Linked DNA regions of Homo sapiens: all the other regions are linked to region 2. Evidence: promoter capture Hi-C in 16 types of primary human blood cells and fetal thymus (Javierre and others, 2016). All regions are on one chromosome and are shown on one strand. Each heading gives the region's core, a stretch centred on a gene start or on the middle of the fragment in contact. The rest is flanking DNA. Distances are from core to core; before and after follow the strand shown. Region 1 overlaps LOC124909438 (a long non-coding RNA gene). Region 2 holds the start of FOXL2 (forkhead box L2). Region 3 overlaps MRAS (muscle RAS oncogene homolog). Region 4 overlaps MRAS (muscle RAS oncogene homolog). Region 5 holds the start of ESYT3 (extended synaptotagmin 3).

Region 1 (2,700 bases), core at 50-2,549, 610 kb before region 2:
CACCATTTGCTGAGAAGACTTTCCTTTACTTCACTGGATTGATTTGGTGTCTTTGTCAAAAACCAACTGGCCATGTAAGTGTGAGTTTCCTTCAGGATTCTCTAGTCTATTCCGCTGATCTAGTTGACCATCCTTATACCAGTACTTGATTACTAGTTGTATAGTAAGTCTTAAAATCAGGTAATCTAAGTCATCCAACCTTGTTTTTCTTTTTCAAAATTATTTGTCTATTTTAAGTTCTTTTACTTTCATACAAATCCTAGAGTCAATCTGTTAATATGTCTGTCTTTAAAAATCCTCTTGAAAATTTGATTAAATTGCATTAAACCTAAAGATTGACTTGGGAAGAATTGACATCTTAATAATGCGGAGTCCTCCAGTCCATAAATAGGATGTGTGTTCCATTTATTCTTTAACTTCAGCAATGTTTTATAGTTGTTAAACCAATCTTGCAAGTCATTTGTATTCATTATGCTATTATTAATGAAATTGACTTTCAAAATTTATTGCCAATTTTGTGCTGCCAGTACATAGAAATACAACTGATTTTTTGTATATTGACTTTGTATTCTGAGATCTTGCTAAACTCACTTATTAGTGCTGGTAGTTTCTTTGTTGATTGTGAGGGTAACTTTGAAAACACAAGATAGTGAGCCATAAAATGGAAGCAGCTAGTCTGAGCCTAACAACCTGCCTTGGACTGTGTTGCATTTTCTTCGTGTCGTAGTAGTCATTGGGGGTTACAATCAAACTGCTCATCTGTATTGTGAGTCCCTGTAGGGCAGGTTGTCCCAGCTACTTCCTAGTGAATCTTTTTTAATGAACCTCAGGTTTCCATCATGACCTGAACGAATGAGCCCTATGCTGCCCACCATTCATGCTTACTGAGAAGTCAGAGGAGATGACAAGGAGACTTCTACATGTTGTAGAGGAAGCTGACCATAGGTCCCTCCTGTTGACCGATGTTTCTCCATGGGTCTCTCATGCATCTGCATATTTTTCAAGCAGAGGCACTGACTGCTTTATTCCCAACAGCCTTTCCAGGAATGTTTATATAGTGAACAACCTTGAAAGATAGAGGTAGTATCTCCTTCTAAAGCAAAGGAAAGGTTTGTTTACAGCCTTGGAAGTTAGAGATAATGTCTCCTTCTGTAGAAAGCATACTTAACTCTTCAGTGTAAAAGCTTTGGTTTCTTGAAGCTAGGATTCTTCTCCTATAACACAACCTGCTGCATGTGCAGGTGTCACCTGGCCCTCTCTGCATTGTCCTATGGGAATCAGTTCAGGAAACCTATGCAAAAATGCTAATACTTTGGTTATTGCTATTGCTTTGAATAATAAACTATCCTTCATCTCTGACCCAGGAGCGACTTATATGTTCTTTCAGCATCCATGATTATGGAAGAATAACTTGTAAGCTTGCAAGGAGGGTAAAATCTCAGATGATTTACAGTTCTTGACACCTCCCTAGAGGTAATGAACTTTGCCCTTGATTGTTGAGCCTCCTAGAGAGCATGCTCTTCCAACCTCCCATTAGAACTCCTTGCCCATACACTTGAAACTTTTGAGGCAGAGCTAGATTTCAGTCAAGCTACAAAGACCTCATTATCGAGGACCACACTCCTCCAGTGTTTCACCCAAAGTTTCCTGAATGGCTGCCCTGGAGATTTGAGGGCTTAATGCTAAAAGGCCTTAAGCATTTAGAGATCTCTAAACATCACTAATATTTAACTCAAAGATTTGTGTGCATTTTATGGAATACAACATACCACATCCGTATTTGTTTTAATGTAAAAATAACACTTTAAAATTCTAGCCATCAGGGATTTTAAAAGTGTTTTCTAACTGTCTTGTTTGTCAAGACATTTGACGTGATGCTACTGGATGATGCTACTGGATTTCAGAAAATTGGGCTAAATTAGAGCAAGCAAGCCCTGCATTTCAAATTCAGCATCCAGGCAATTTTTTTCTTTGACTTGGTATTACAATATTTCAAGTACTAAAACTCATGAAAACATGTGACCACAAATGAAGATCATTTTTCCATTGTTTTACAAACTGGGGCTCGGTTACTGAGAGATGCTCAGGAAGCTGGCCCCAGGCTATGGGTGGCAGAATGTCATTGTGACTATCTCCTGTTGAGAGGCCACATTGTTCATGTGGCAGGGAATGGCTCTTACCTAAGCTGCTGCTGCTTTTTTTTTTTTTTTTTTTGAGGTCTCACTCTGTCACCCAGGCTGGAGTGCAGTGGCCCAATCATCATTGCTCACTGAGCCTCAAACTCCAGGACTCAAGCAATCCTTTCACCTCAGCCTCCCAAGTAGCTGAGACTACAGGCAAATGACACCATTCCCAGCTAATTTTTAAATTTTTTGTAGAGACAGGGTCTTGCTGTGTTGTCCAGGCTAGTCTCAAACTCCTGGGCTCAAGCAATCCTCCCACCTTGGCCTCCCAAAGTGCTGGTGAAACAGCTCCGTTGTCTCAGGATTTACCTGTGGTTCTTTGTCTCACGCCAAGAAAGAGTTCAGGACACCGACACTCATGAGAAGTGGGTTTAGGAGTGGAAAGTTTAATAGACAAAGAAGAGGAGAAAGAGAACTTCCTCATACTGAGAAAGCGGGTCACCCAAGAGGGGGTCTTTGGTTTGGGGTGGAATGCGATCAGTTTTGTAAAGAGGATTGAGGAGGCAGTAATTGATTT
Region 2 (2,717 bases), core at 28-2,527:
GGCGGAGGCGGGGGTGCGGCCGGCGGGCCTCCCAGGCCATTGTACGAGTTCACTACGCCGGGGGGCAGCGCCATGCTCTGCACGCGTGTGTACGGCCCGTACGAGGCGGCCGGGCCCGCCAGCCCCTTGACCACAGCGGCCGCGCCAGGGCTACCGGGGCCCGCGGCTGCAGCCGCAGCTGCTGCAGCCGCTGCGGCTGCCGCCATCTGGCAGGAGGCATAGGGCATGGGTGAGGGAGGCTGCGGTAGCGGCCACGAGTTGTTGAGGAAGCCAGACTGCAGGTACTTGGGGGGCGCCAGGTAGCCGTAGCCGTCGGCCCCGGCGCCCGCCACGCCGCACCCGCCTGCGGCGCCTCCGGCCCCGAAGAGCCCCTTGCCGGGCTGGAAGTGCGCGGGCGGCGGCCGGAAGGGCCTCTTCATGCGGCGGCGGCGCCGGTAGTTGCCCTTCTCGAACATGTCTTCGCAGGCCGGGTCCAGCGTCCAGTAGTTGCCCTTGCGCTCGCCGCCGCCCTCGCGCGGCACCTTGATGAAGCACTCGTTGAGGCTGAGGTTGTGGCGGATGCTATTTTGCCAGCCCTTCTTATTCTTCTCGTAGAACGGGAACTTCGCGATGATGTACTGGTAGATGCCGGACAGCGTGAGCCTCTTCTCCGCGCTCTCGCGGATCGCCATGGCGATGAGCGCCACGTACGAGTACGGGGGCTTCTGCGCCGGGTCCGGCTTCTCCGGGGCTGTCCCGCCGCCACCCCCACCGCCCTTGCCTGGGCTCGGCGGCGGCCCTTCTGGCTCCTTGACTGTGCGACCGGTCTCTGGGGCCAGCAGGGCCCCCGCCGCGTCCTCGGGCTCGGGGTAGCTGGCCATCATGACAAAGCCGGCGCGCCGCGGCCGGGCCGCCTCTGCTCTCCGCTCCAGGCGCTGGCGCGGCAAAGAGTTGGGGCGCACGAGTCCGCTTACGGCCAAGTCTCAAACTTCTGGAGACTGCGGATGCCGCCCGCGCTTGCTTGCTGGAGGCCTGTCGCTGCTCTCCCCTCTCCTTCCCCTTCCCCTAGGGAGCGGCCGGCGGGAGTGGAGCTCAGCCTCTGGCCATGGGGAGTCCGCCCAACAGAGAGGGGCTCCGGCCTCGCCGCCCCTCCCCGCTCAGGCCAGTCCCCGCCTTGGTGGGTTTTCTTTTCTGCGCTCTTCCCCTCCCCCCGCCCCCCGGTTTCCCGAAGCACGACCCGCGTCTCTGGCGGAGCTGCCTCCTGGAGTCCCTAGTGCGCCAGGAGCCTCGCTCTGTTCTGATTCGTATGGGCTCCACCGAGTTCCGCTTGCGTCAGGCGCCTTCGCCCCTATAGCGGGGCGGCCAGCCGCGCACGGGCGAGTTCATCTCCAAGTCACTTTTTGTAAACGCCCCGCACAGCCTGGACCGGCCTGCCCCCGCCCAGCGAGCCTCAGGGGCCCAGCCGACAGCCAGGCTCACGCGCCCTTGAAATCTGCCGGTACTCGCTCTGCGGGCTGGGCTGGGAGATGACGAGGACCCCGGTGGGGTCTGCCCGCACCCGGCCAAAGCCCAGGAAGCTCGGGCCCCAGCGAGGAAAGGCGCTCCAAGCCTCCTCGCGGCTTTCAGGTGAAAGAAAACGACTCCTTTGCTCTGCCGTTTGCTGCCGTCTTGAGGCTGAACTTCTAGCTCGGGGCTGGGGAGGGGCGAGACGGCGAGGGGGCTGGACGGGGTAGGGTGGGGAGAGCTGCTCTGAGGCTTTGGGAAAGTCAGCCCAGAAACGGGTGTGACTGTACGAAGAAGCCTCGGCCTGGCCTGTCCCTCGCGCTCTCAGAGTGACTGGGCTGGAATGGGGCAGGGGAGAGGATCTCTGGAAATAGTCGTCAGGGGCGCCGCCTGAATCACCTCTGCCTCTCCCTGCGTTACCAGTGGATCTAGGAACCAGGAATCCGTGTACTAATCCTACGGGGTTGGAGTGAAGGTTGGATGTGTGCTTTAACAGCACCAAGTAGATGCCCCTCAGCTATTGCACTAACACAGGCGGGGCTGTTGCCCGGGACTTTGCGGGACTGTGTATGTGTGTGCACAGGGGTCACATATGGAAGTCATGGAGAGGAGCTGTCCTTGAGATGGGTGAGATACCAGGTGCATGTGTGCTGCTCAGAAACACAGGTATGCACATGTACAAGGTGTGAGATTTGTATTTACGAGGTAAAACACACTTATACTGATAGTTATGTAATATGTTCATCAAGTATTAGAGTAAATGTAGCTGGTGGATATAGCATCTTCTCTTTTTCTCCTTTCTTACTTCTTTCCTTCCCCCCTTTCTTCCTTTCTTTCACAATTCTTCGATGCCTCTTTCCCTCCCAGTGTATGTATTTTGCCACAGACTGGGAAGACAAACATCAGGCTGAGGGAGGGACTTGTTCAAATCTCTCTCCTGATGAGACATTTGTTCTGATCTTTCTCCAAAGAATCAGGAGTTAGTTGTCACCTACCTTAAGCAGAATTCTGATGGGAATCCAATTATTTCAGCATGTACAGAGATTGTTTCAGGGAAAATCAGGTGTGCCTTTTAACAGTGTGCTCCTTAACAGTGCCTTTTAACTTGGCCTAAACAAAAAGTCTGCAGTCATAAAGTATGAGAGAGATGGCCAGTGTTTTGAATCCTCAAGCCCCAAACTCCTTGGTGCTGAGGAGGGGGGCAAGGCCACCTTATGGAGGAAGGTGGACTGAAT
Region 3 (2,745 bases), core at 237-2,736, 590 kb before region 2:
TTTAGGGCTTGGGGAGGGAGATGTGAAAAGTAGCCTTCTGCTGAGTGGGCTTAAAACCCTGGGATTGGAAGGGTCCCTGAGAAGCCGTCACACCCACCTCCAGCCTGGTTCACCACTCCAAAGCTAGGTGGCCAGTCCTTCTTCCTCCGCATCTGCTTCACAGACCTTTGCAGAGGAAAATCTCACACTCATTGCCATGCCTGCCTCGTTTTCAGGAAGTTTCCCTTTTATTTGGCTTCAGTCCGTCTCTCTGCAGTCTGGTTACTCTTTAAAAATGAAGGTTGAATTGCCTCTCCCCACCTCAAGGAAGAACCTAGACCCTATGTCTTTCTTATTTTTGGTCAAGCATAAACATTTTCACATTCTTCATTAATGGTGTCTAACATCTTAAATATAAATAATGAAAACACAGCAAAGCAGCAGCCTTTTTTGAATGTGCCTTTTTGGCCTCCACCTCTCTGGGCTCTGACATACTCCTGGGGTGGGCTGTGTGCCTGTCCCTGAAGAATGCCAGGCTGGCCCATGTCCTGCAGGCCAAGTAACCCCTGCTGCTGCTCTCTTCAGTGAGATCATTTCCTTTGATCTCACACCTCCTTGCACCAAAGCCAGGCCAAGCCAAGGCAGTGCGAAGAGTTGTCTGCCTTAGAACGGCCGTGCCACTCAGATGTGTGTGTGCTCAAGAAGGATGGGTACAGAGTGTTGATTTATTTGGGTTACACAATGTGTAAAACTTTTTCATTGGTGGCCAGTATTTAAAATAATAAAATAGCCAGAAATCTGAGTTTTTGCATAGACTCAGATTGCTGGCTATTCTTTAAAAATTTAGACTATCTGGCAAGCTCATTGCAGATATTATGTTGCAGCAGTCAGCTGGTGCGGGGTGTCAGTAATCTCCTGTTTGCACAGGCCCCACTGCTCCCTGTTGCCTGTACCTATCCCCTTCTATCACTTATTGACACAGCCTCTGCCGGCACGTGCACGTGACTTTGGGATGTCCGTTTTGTTCTTGATTCCCTCTTGCTGCTACTGCAGGGCAAAGCAGTTGAGATGGGGGGATCAGTCAGAAAGCATCCGTCTCTCAGGCAGGGGCCTGTGAGATGCAGAGGGATGCCTGGCCCTGGGATCCGGGCCTTCCGTTCCCTCTCTGTTGCCACCCTGCTCTTCTCCTGGGCTTACCAGATTGAACTGGCGGAACACCGTGATTCCATGAGATGAGCAGTTCTGGGCTGGGACAGCTAAGGAGTTAAGGGACAACCTTAGCTGTACTCTGGGGGCTGGGTGTGGCATCCCCAGCTCAGAAGGCAGGGCCAGTCAGGGGGCCATGCCCTGGGTGCTGGTGGGGTCTCAGTGCTTTGGGAATTTGGACAGCAAGGAAGGACCCCTCATCGCCACTCCTCCTGCTGGGCTGGTGCCCACGGGTGTCCAGTGGGACTCCTCACATGGTATGTCCTTCGTGAGGCCTGCCACTGCAGTCCTCTAGGTCCTGTGTGGCCCATGGCATAGTGCCCACATCACCTCTGTCCTACTGTCTACCCAAGCCAGACTCCCAGCCAGCTGCCAGTATCACTCCTGCATTTGGAAATGCAGACAGCAGACACGTTGGAGCGTCTCTGAGCAGAAAGCTGTGCCAGGGCTCTGGGATGCCCAGAGAAAAAGAAGACAAGGCCTGGCCCTTTGTCCACTGTCCCACTAGCAGAGGAATGTGACTGTGAAGTAACACCCAGCTCCTAGATTTGAGGGCAGATGAAGAGGGGCATGCCGAGCTTTCAGGTCAGAGATATGGCCTTGGACAAACCACAGAGCCTCTCTGACCTTCACGGTTCCTGAAGGGGCTAAACAATGCCTCTTGGTGAAGCGTCTTGAGTCATCACATGGAATAATGGCTGCGGAGCACTTGCGCTGCCACCTGCCACCTGGTTGGCATTCCATAGATGGAAGCAAGGTGGCTCAGTGGAAGGAGACCTTGGGGGATAGAAGAGGGCCTTAGAGGAAGGAATCGTTTCTGGGGGATAGGACCTGACACTTGGGTACCATCCCTGTCCTTGAGGACACCAGACCAGGAATCAGCAGAGCAGAGGCCATGCGAGGGGAAGGGGGCACTTGGGCAGCTCAAGAAAGGCCTAGAATGTTGTGGTCAGCGGGGAGAGCTTCATGGATGGCATTCCAGGAGACTCTGTGCTTGGGTTAGTTGGGGAGTGATAATGCTGGAGTGGTGGGTGGGACAATGCTAGTGGTGGTTGCTCAGGCCGGGGGCAGACATGGGCCACAGTGGTGGACAGCCTTGCTAGGCCTTGGCCTGGGATGTGGGTAAAGGGCTGTTTGCACTGCCAAGGGAGAAAAAGGAAGAGAATTTGGGGCAGAGAGGTGGGCAAAGGGGCCCACCCTTGGGCAGGTGAGGGAGGTGCTGGCTGAATCCAGTTTGTGCAGGGTTGAGCCTGAGCAGCGGAGCAGAACAGTGAGGAGGTGCGGGGCTCTGTGAGCAGAGGGCAAAGCGGAGTCAGAGCAGGGCTGGGAGGACAGCAGCCTGCCAGGCTCTGGGGAGGCCAAGGGCGCTCAGTCTGGGGAACCCCAGAGTGTGCAGAGGCTGGCCTTCCCTGGTTGAGTGACCACCAGCATGACGTTCCCAATTGCACGCAGATTCCTATGGAAGGCTGCAGGAGTCCTCCTCTTTCACTGCGGGTGAGACTGCCCCAGTGCTAGGAAAATATTAATAGACCCCCAGGGACTGAGAACAAGGATTGAAAA
Region 4 (2,733 bases), core at 9-2,508, 570 kb before region 2:
CCATGAAATCCACTGTTTTAGCTCCCACATATCAGTGAGAGCATGCAATATTTGTCTTTCTGTGCCTGGCTTGTTTCACTTAACATAATGACCTCCAGTTCCATCCATGTTGCTGCAAATGACAGAATGTCTTTTTTTTTTTTTTTTTTTTTTTTGAGACGGAGTCTCACACTTGTTGGGCAGACTAGAGTTCAGTGGCACGATCACTGCAACCTCCCCCTCCCGGGTTCAAGCAATTCTCCTGCCTAAGCCTCCCAAGTAGCTGAAATTACAGGCACCTGCCAACACGCTCGGCTAATTTTTGTATTTTTAGTAGAGATGGGGTTTCACCATCTTGGCTAGGTTGGTCTCGAACTCCTGACCTCAGGTGATCTGCCCACCTCGGCCTCCCAAAGTGCTGGCATTACAGGCATGAGCCACTGCGCCCAGCCTCATTCTTTGTTATGGATGAATAATATTCTATTGTGTATATATGCTACATTTTCTTTATCATTCATTCATTGAAAGGCACTTAGGTTGCTTCCTTACTCTTGGCTATTGTGACTAGCGCTATGATAAACATGGGAGTGCAGGTATCACTTCAATATACTGATTTCCTTTCCTTTGAGTGTATACTCAGCAGTAGGATTGCTGGACCATATGGTAGCTCTATTTTTAGTTTTTTGAGGGATCTCCATACCATTTTCCATAGTGGCTATACTAGTTTATATTCCCACCAGCAGTATCCAAACATTCTCTTTTCTCCACATCTTCCCTAGCATTTGTTATTTTTTGTCTTTTTGATAATAGCCATTGTAACTGGGGTGAGATGTTATCTCATTGTAGTTTTGATTTGCATTTCATTGTAGTTTTGATTTGCATTTCTCTGATGATTAGCGATGTTGATAATTTTTTCATATACCTGCTATCCATTTGTTTGTCTCTGAGAAATGCCTATTCAGGTCTTTTGCCCTTTAAATCAGAATTTTATTTTATTTTGCTAATGAGTTGTTTGAGTTTCTTATATATTCAGGTTATTAATCCCTTGCCCCTTAAACACTAAGTCCCCATTTTCCCCTCTCCTCAGTCCTTGGCAACCACCATTCTACTTTCTTTTTTTTTTCTGAAATGAGGTCTCACTCTGTCACCCAGGCCGGAATGCAGTGGTGCGATCTCGGTTCACTGCAACCTCCGCTTTCTGAGTTCAAGTGATTATCCTGCCTCACCCTCCTGAGGAGCTGGGATTACAGGCGTGCACCACCACGCCTGGCTAATTTTTGTATTTTTAGTAGGGATGGGGTTTCCGTGTTGGCCAGGCTGATCTCGAACTCCTGGCCTCAGGTGATCCACCCACCTCGGCCTCCTAAAGTGCTGGGATTATAGGCGTGAGCCACCGCGCCCGGCTTCTACTTTCTGTCTCTATGTATTTAACTAATCTAGATACCTCATTTGAGTGCTATGATAAGTGGAATAATATTTGTCCTTTTATGTGGCTGGCTTATTTTAATTAGTACAATCTATTCAAGGTTCATCCATGTTGCTGCATGTTCTGAATTTCTTTCCTTTTTTTTTCTTTTTTTTTTGAGACGGTGTCTCGCTCTGTCGCCAGGCTGGAGTGCAGTGGTGTGATCTCGGCTCACTGCAGCCTCCGCCTCCCGGGTTCAAGTGATTCTCCTGCCTCAGTCTTCCGAGTAGCTGGGACTATAGGCACGTGCCACCACACCCAGCTAATTTTTGTATTTTTAGTAGAGACTGGTAGCATTTTCACCATGCTGGCCAGCATGGTCTCAATCTCTTGACCTCGTGATCCACCCGCCTCGGCCTCCCAAAGTGTTGGGTTTACAGGCATGAGCCGCCACGCCCGGCCTTCTCTCCGTTTTAAAGCTGAATGATATTCCACTGTATGGATGTACCATGTTTTCATTATCTGTTCATCTGTGGATGGACACTTGGGTGGTTTCCACCTTTTTGCTGTTATGAATAACGCTGCTATGAGCATGGTATATAAATATCTGAGTCCCTGCTTTCCTTCTTTCGTCTTAGAGTTCTTGTGTGCCTATTTTTTCTGTTGGTTAGGGATGGAAGGCTGCTAAGCCCCTCACTTTACAATTGTGGAAACTGAGGTACAGATGGAGAGGTCACTAGTCTAGGGTGAGACCTAGCTAGCTGGAGAGCCAGGTTTTGGGCTTCTTGACTCTGCCGAGCGTGTCCTCCACCCTGTCCCACTACCTCCTGCTTTGGCCCAGGCCTTGGGCCTTTAAGGTGGGATGCTGACCAAATCCTCTCCTCACTTACAACAGGGCAGATGTCTCTGGGCCTCCCCACCCTCTGGCTCCCAGCCCCGCCCTCTGCCCAGCCAGCCTCTGGAACTTTGCATCTTTCTTCCATCGGTGGAGAACAGCAGTGGGCCCTGAGTCTCCAGACACTGCTTCCTACCTTGGGGTTCTTGGGCCCAGCTCCGCAACCTCTCTGTCTCCGACTCCCCAGCAAGTGCCCAGTGTTTTCAAAGAGCAAAAGCCTGGCTCTTCTCCTGCACCATCAGAAGCTGGGACATTTCCACCCTGGCTTCTGCCCAAACCTCAGACACAAGTGCTGTTGTCTTCTCAGAGGGGCCTGAACCTGGCTTTTCCCCCACACACTTGAATCCACATTCTTTCTGGGGACGAGGAGGAGAGGAGGACATTTGAAGGGCAGGGAGAGGAAAAGGAACGTTTACTGAGTTTTTTTTTCCTGAACCAGGGGCTTTACCAGGGG
Region 5 (2,700 bases), core at 201-2,700, 510 kb before region 2:
CCAGGAGAATTCCCAGTATCCCTAGCCTACACTCTCTTTTGCTTCAGCAGACCTGGGTTAACCAATAGAGAAATATTTTGAGGAAAGAATTCTGTGGTCAAATAATCTGGGAAACACTGGGTTAAATAGAATTTAATAACTTTTTGTCTGAAGGACTTCTCAGAGCCTTTACTAGGACTGTGTACATGCAACTCTCAAGAAGGAACTCCAGCGAGCAGCATTTCTTCCGTTGATTTCCCAGGCTACACTGGGAGAATGTTAAGTTGGGGGACTTTAAGCCTCTGTTTTGGCTGAGTCCTGGAAAGCCAAGAACAATAGAGAAGGGTCCAGGTATTCTGACCACCAGGAACTCACGTATTGTTGAAAAAACTCATTGCAGTAAGTAATTTTATCCAAGAGAGAGGATAAAGCCAGAGAGAGAAAAAGAGAGTGACAGAGCAAGAGTCAGAACGAGAACGGGAGACCGGGGCGGGGTGGGGAGGGGGGAGGGAGGGAGAGAGAGAAAAGGAAAGAGAATATTTTGATTGCTATCCATCGGCTCCAGCCTTTCGATAAAGCTGTTGAAACAGTAGAGTCATTCCAAATCACTCTGGTACATTTGTCAACTCCAAAATCACATTCCAGTAATTGATGTGAGCCCTTTCATGTGGCCGTCTGAAATATATGCTATCCGCAAGACGATTTACTATCCGAACTTAAGAGATTCGGAGCTCCACCTGCTCTGATCATTAAAGGGTTAGAAACCATGGGCTTCACCATTGACTCTCAGGCACCTCGGGGCTTCCTCTTCATCTTTCCTTTTATTCGCCGGTCGCTTGCCCTTGTTGGGCGCCCCACAGATGGCCAAGACGGGCCGGTCCCCGGAAGTTCCCCGTCTGATGATGCAGGGAATGACGATCCAAACAGACACCTAGAAGAGAGGATGGGGAGAGAGGGGCAGAGGGTTTTGTGGCGCGCAGGAGGGGCCCTGAGCTCGGCTTGGTGAGGCTGGGGGCTAGGTCCAAGCTTTACAGATGCCAGAGGAGCTGGCAGCGTTGCAGGCTCTAGGGGCCAGTTGGAGGGCCGGGACGCAGGACCTGAGGCTGGGGAGGCCTGGCTGAGCCTGTCCAGGGAGGGCCTCGAATGCCAGCTGAGTCCAGACTATACTGTGTATTATAGACCGCGTGTAGGAAACAGGTTTTAGGTGATGTTTATCCATGATAAGCCAGTTGTACACAGGTGTTGGTGAGTCATTAACCACCTAGGGCAGCACTTGGTCCACCCGGACTGGCGAGTGCACACCTCCGGCTGACGCCTGCGCCACGTGCTGGGGTCGGAGGCCGAGCTCACCGGCTGGTTGCTCTTTAGAGCGGGCAGGAGCCAGGCGGGCGGCCCGCCCCTCTAGGGCGGAGACTTCCGGAGCTGCGGACTCACTGGAGCCGAGAACTGGGGCGGCGCGGCGCGGCGCGGTGCATTTCCAGGCGCTGCTCTCCGTCGCAGAGAACCCTGAGCTCGGCGCGCCGAGAGTCCCAGCAGGGCAAGGGGGCGCGGCGTCCTGGTCCTCGAGCTTGGGAGACAGATGCGCATGGGCGTGGGGGCATGCGGACCTAAGCTCGGGTGAAGCTCTCGGGAAGGGCAAGACTGCGGCGACGAGATGCGAGCAGAGGAGCCCTGCGCCCCCGGGGCCCCCAGCGCCCTGGGAGCCCAGCGCACGCCGGGCCCCGAGCTGCGCCTGTCCAGCCAGCTGCTGCCCGAGCTCTGTACCTTCGTGGTGCGCGTGCTGTTCTACCTGGGGCCTGTCTACCTAGCTGGCTACCTGGGGCTCAGCATAACCTGGTTGCTGCTCGGCGCCCTGCTGTGGATGTGGTGGCGCAGGAACCGCCGCGGGAAGCTTGGGCGCCTGGCCGCCGCCTTCGAATTCCTTGACAATGAACGCGAGTTCATCAGCCGCGAGCTGCGGGGCCAGCACCTGCCAGCCTGGGTGAGCCAAGCCGGGTGGGAGTGGGAGGTGGGGAGATGCCTTTCGAGGTTCGGAGGAACTTGCGGTCAGCGGGGAGCTGGTGCGCGCAAACCCGAGGCAGGGCGGGAGCCCGGCGACCTGCACACCCCGTTCCCCACCGCTCCCGGGGCGCAGACCCTGGGGACGGTGACCGCCCCTCCCGCGGCGCGCAGCACCCTCACGTCCACCTCTGGTCCGACTGCGGTGGGAGTGGGGAACTTGGGTTTCATTTAAGGCCCCAGAGCTCGAGAGAAGAGTCACGGGCAGACCACACCCGGGAGAAAAACAAGGGCGTCTGGGACTTCGCAGACTTACTCGGGTTGGAATCAGAAGGCATTTCTTCCACCCGCCTGTTGATTCAGAGAACGAACGCCGGACGCAAAACGTAGATGGGCAAATACCGCAGTGACAGAAACGGCGGGCCCAGTTGCTTTCGGCCGAGGCCTGGACTGCGGTAGGGGGAGGGCTCCGCGGGGCTGGAGGTGGAGTGGCGGGTACGGCTGGGAGACCGACGGCGCCGGGCCCCGGGCCTCCTTCCCTCCCTCCCTCCGCCGGATAGGGATGCCGGCACACGCACACTGCCCCGACAAACCCATCTCCTGGGGCGGCATGGGCGGCACTACGATTCCTCAAACGCTTCTGGTCCTGGCTTACCTAACAAAACCCAAGTTCTGGGCCCCATTGCATAACTCCCAGGGTGGCACAGAGGTATCCTGGGTGAT

What was found. The method cuts DNA at HindIII sites, captures the fragments that hold promoters and counts their contacts. A CHiCAGO score of 5 or more calls a contact.
Region 1: a contact is called between a fragment that was not itself captured here and the fragment with the promoter of FOXL2 in region 2, in 1 of 17 cell types (erythroblasts). The highest score is 5.7, in erythroblasts.
Region 3: a fragment that was not itself captured here is called in contact with the fragment with the promoter of FOXL2 in region 2 in 1 of 17 cell types (megakaryocytes); the score reaches 5.0 in megakaryocytes.
Region 4: a contact is called between a fragment that was not itself captured here and the fragment with the promoter of FOXL2 in region 2, in 1 of 17 cell types (fetal thymus). The highest score is 5.1, in fetal thymus.
Region 5: the fragment with the promoter of ESYT3 here is called in contact with the fragment with the promoter of FOXL2 in region 2 in 6 of 17 cell types (megakaryocytes, erythroblasts, fetal thymus and 3 more); the score reaches 10.5 in megakaryocytes.

What each region holds. Positions count from the first base shown.
Region 1 is chr3:138,333,903-138,336,602 of GRCh38, forward strand. All of the region lies in intron 1 of LOC124909438 (a long non-coding RNA gene), which reads left to right. Among named protein-coding and RNA genes, the nearest start is that of NME9, 5.4 kb to the left of the region's middle. The HindIII fragment of the contact is 234 bases long and covers 1,183-1,416 here.
Region 2 is chr3:138,945,860-138,948,576 of GRCh38, forward strand. FOXL2 (forkhead box L2) reads right to left here and starts at 1,278. Exons shown (of 1, transcript NM_023067.4): 1 at 1-1,278. The coding sequence starts at 863. FOXL2NB (FOXL2 neighbor) reads left to right here and starts at 1,358. Exons shown (of 3, transcript NM_001040061.3): 1 at 1,358-1,605. The coding sequence starts at 1,506. RefSeq lists a silencer at 1,294-1,522. The HindIII fragment of the contact is 4,318 bases long and covers 1-2,717 here.
Region 3 is chr3:138,359,174-138,361,918 of GRCh38, forward strand. All of the region lies in intron 1 of MRAS (muscle RAS oncogene homolog), which reads left to right. Among named protein-coding and RNA genes, the nearest start is that of MRAS, 12 kb to the left of the region's middle. RefSeq lists an enhancer at 917-1,751. The HindIII fragment of the contact is 3,177 bases long and covers 1-2,745 here.
Region 4 is chr3:138,379,227-138,381,959 of GRCh38, forward strand. All of the region lies in intron 2 of MRAS (muscle RAS oncogene homolog), which reads left to right. Among named protein-coding and RNA genes, the nearest start is that of MRAS, 32 kb to the left of the region's middle. The HindIII fragment of the contact is 6,595 bases long and covers 1-2,733 here.
Region 5 is chr3:138,433,166-138,435,865 of GRCh38, forward strand. ESYT3 (extended synaptotagmin 3) reads left to right here and starts at 1,451. Exons shown (of 23, transcript NM_031913.5): 1 at 1,451-1,960. The coding sequence starts at 1,634. The HindIII fragment of the contact is 865 bases long and covers 1,004-1,868 here.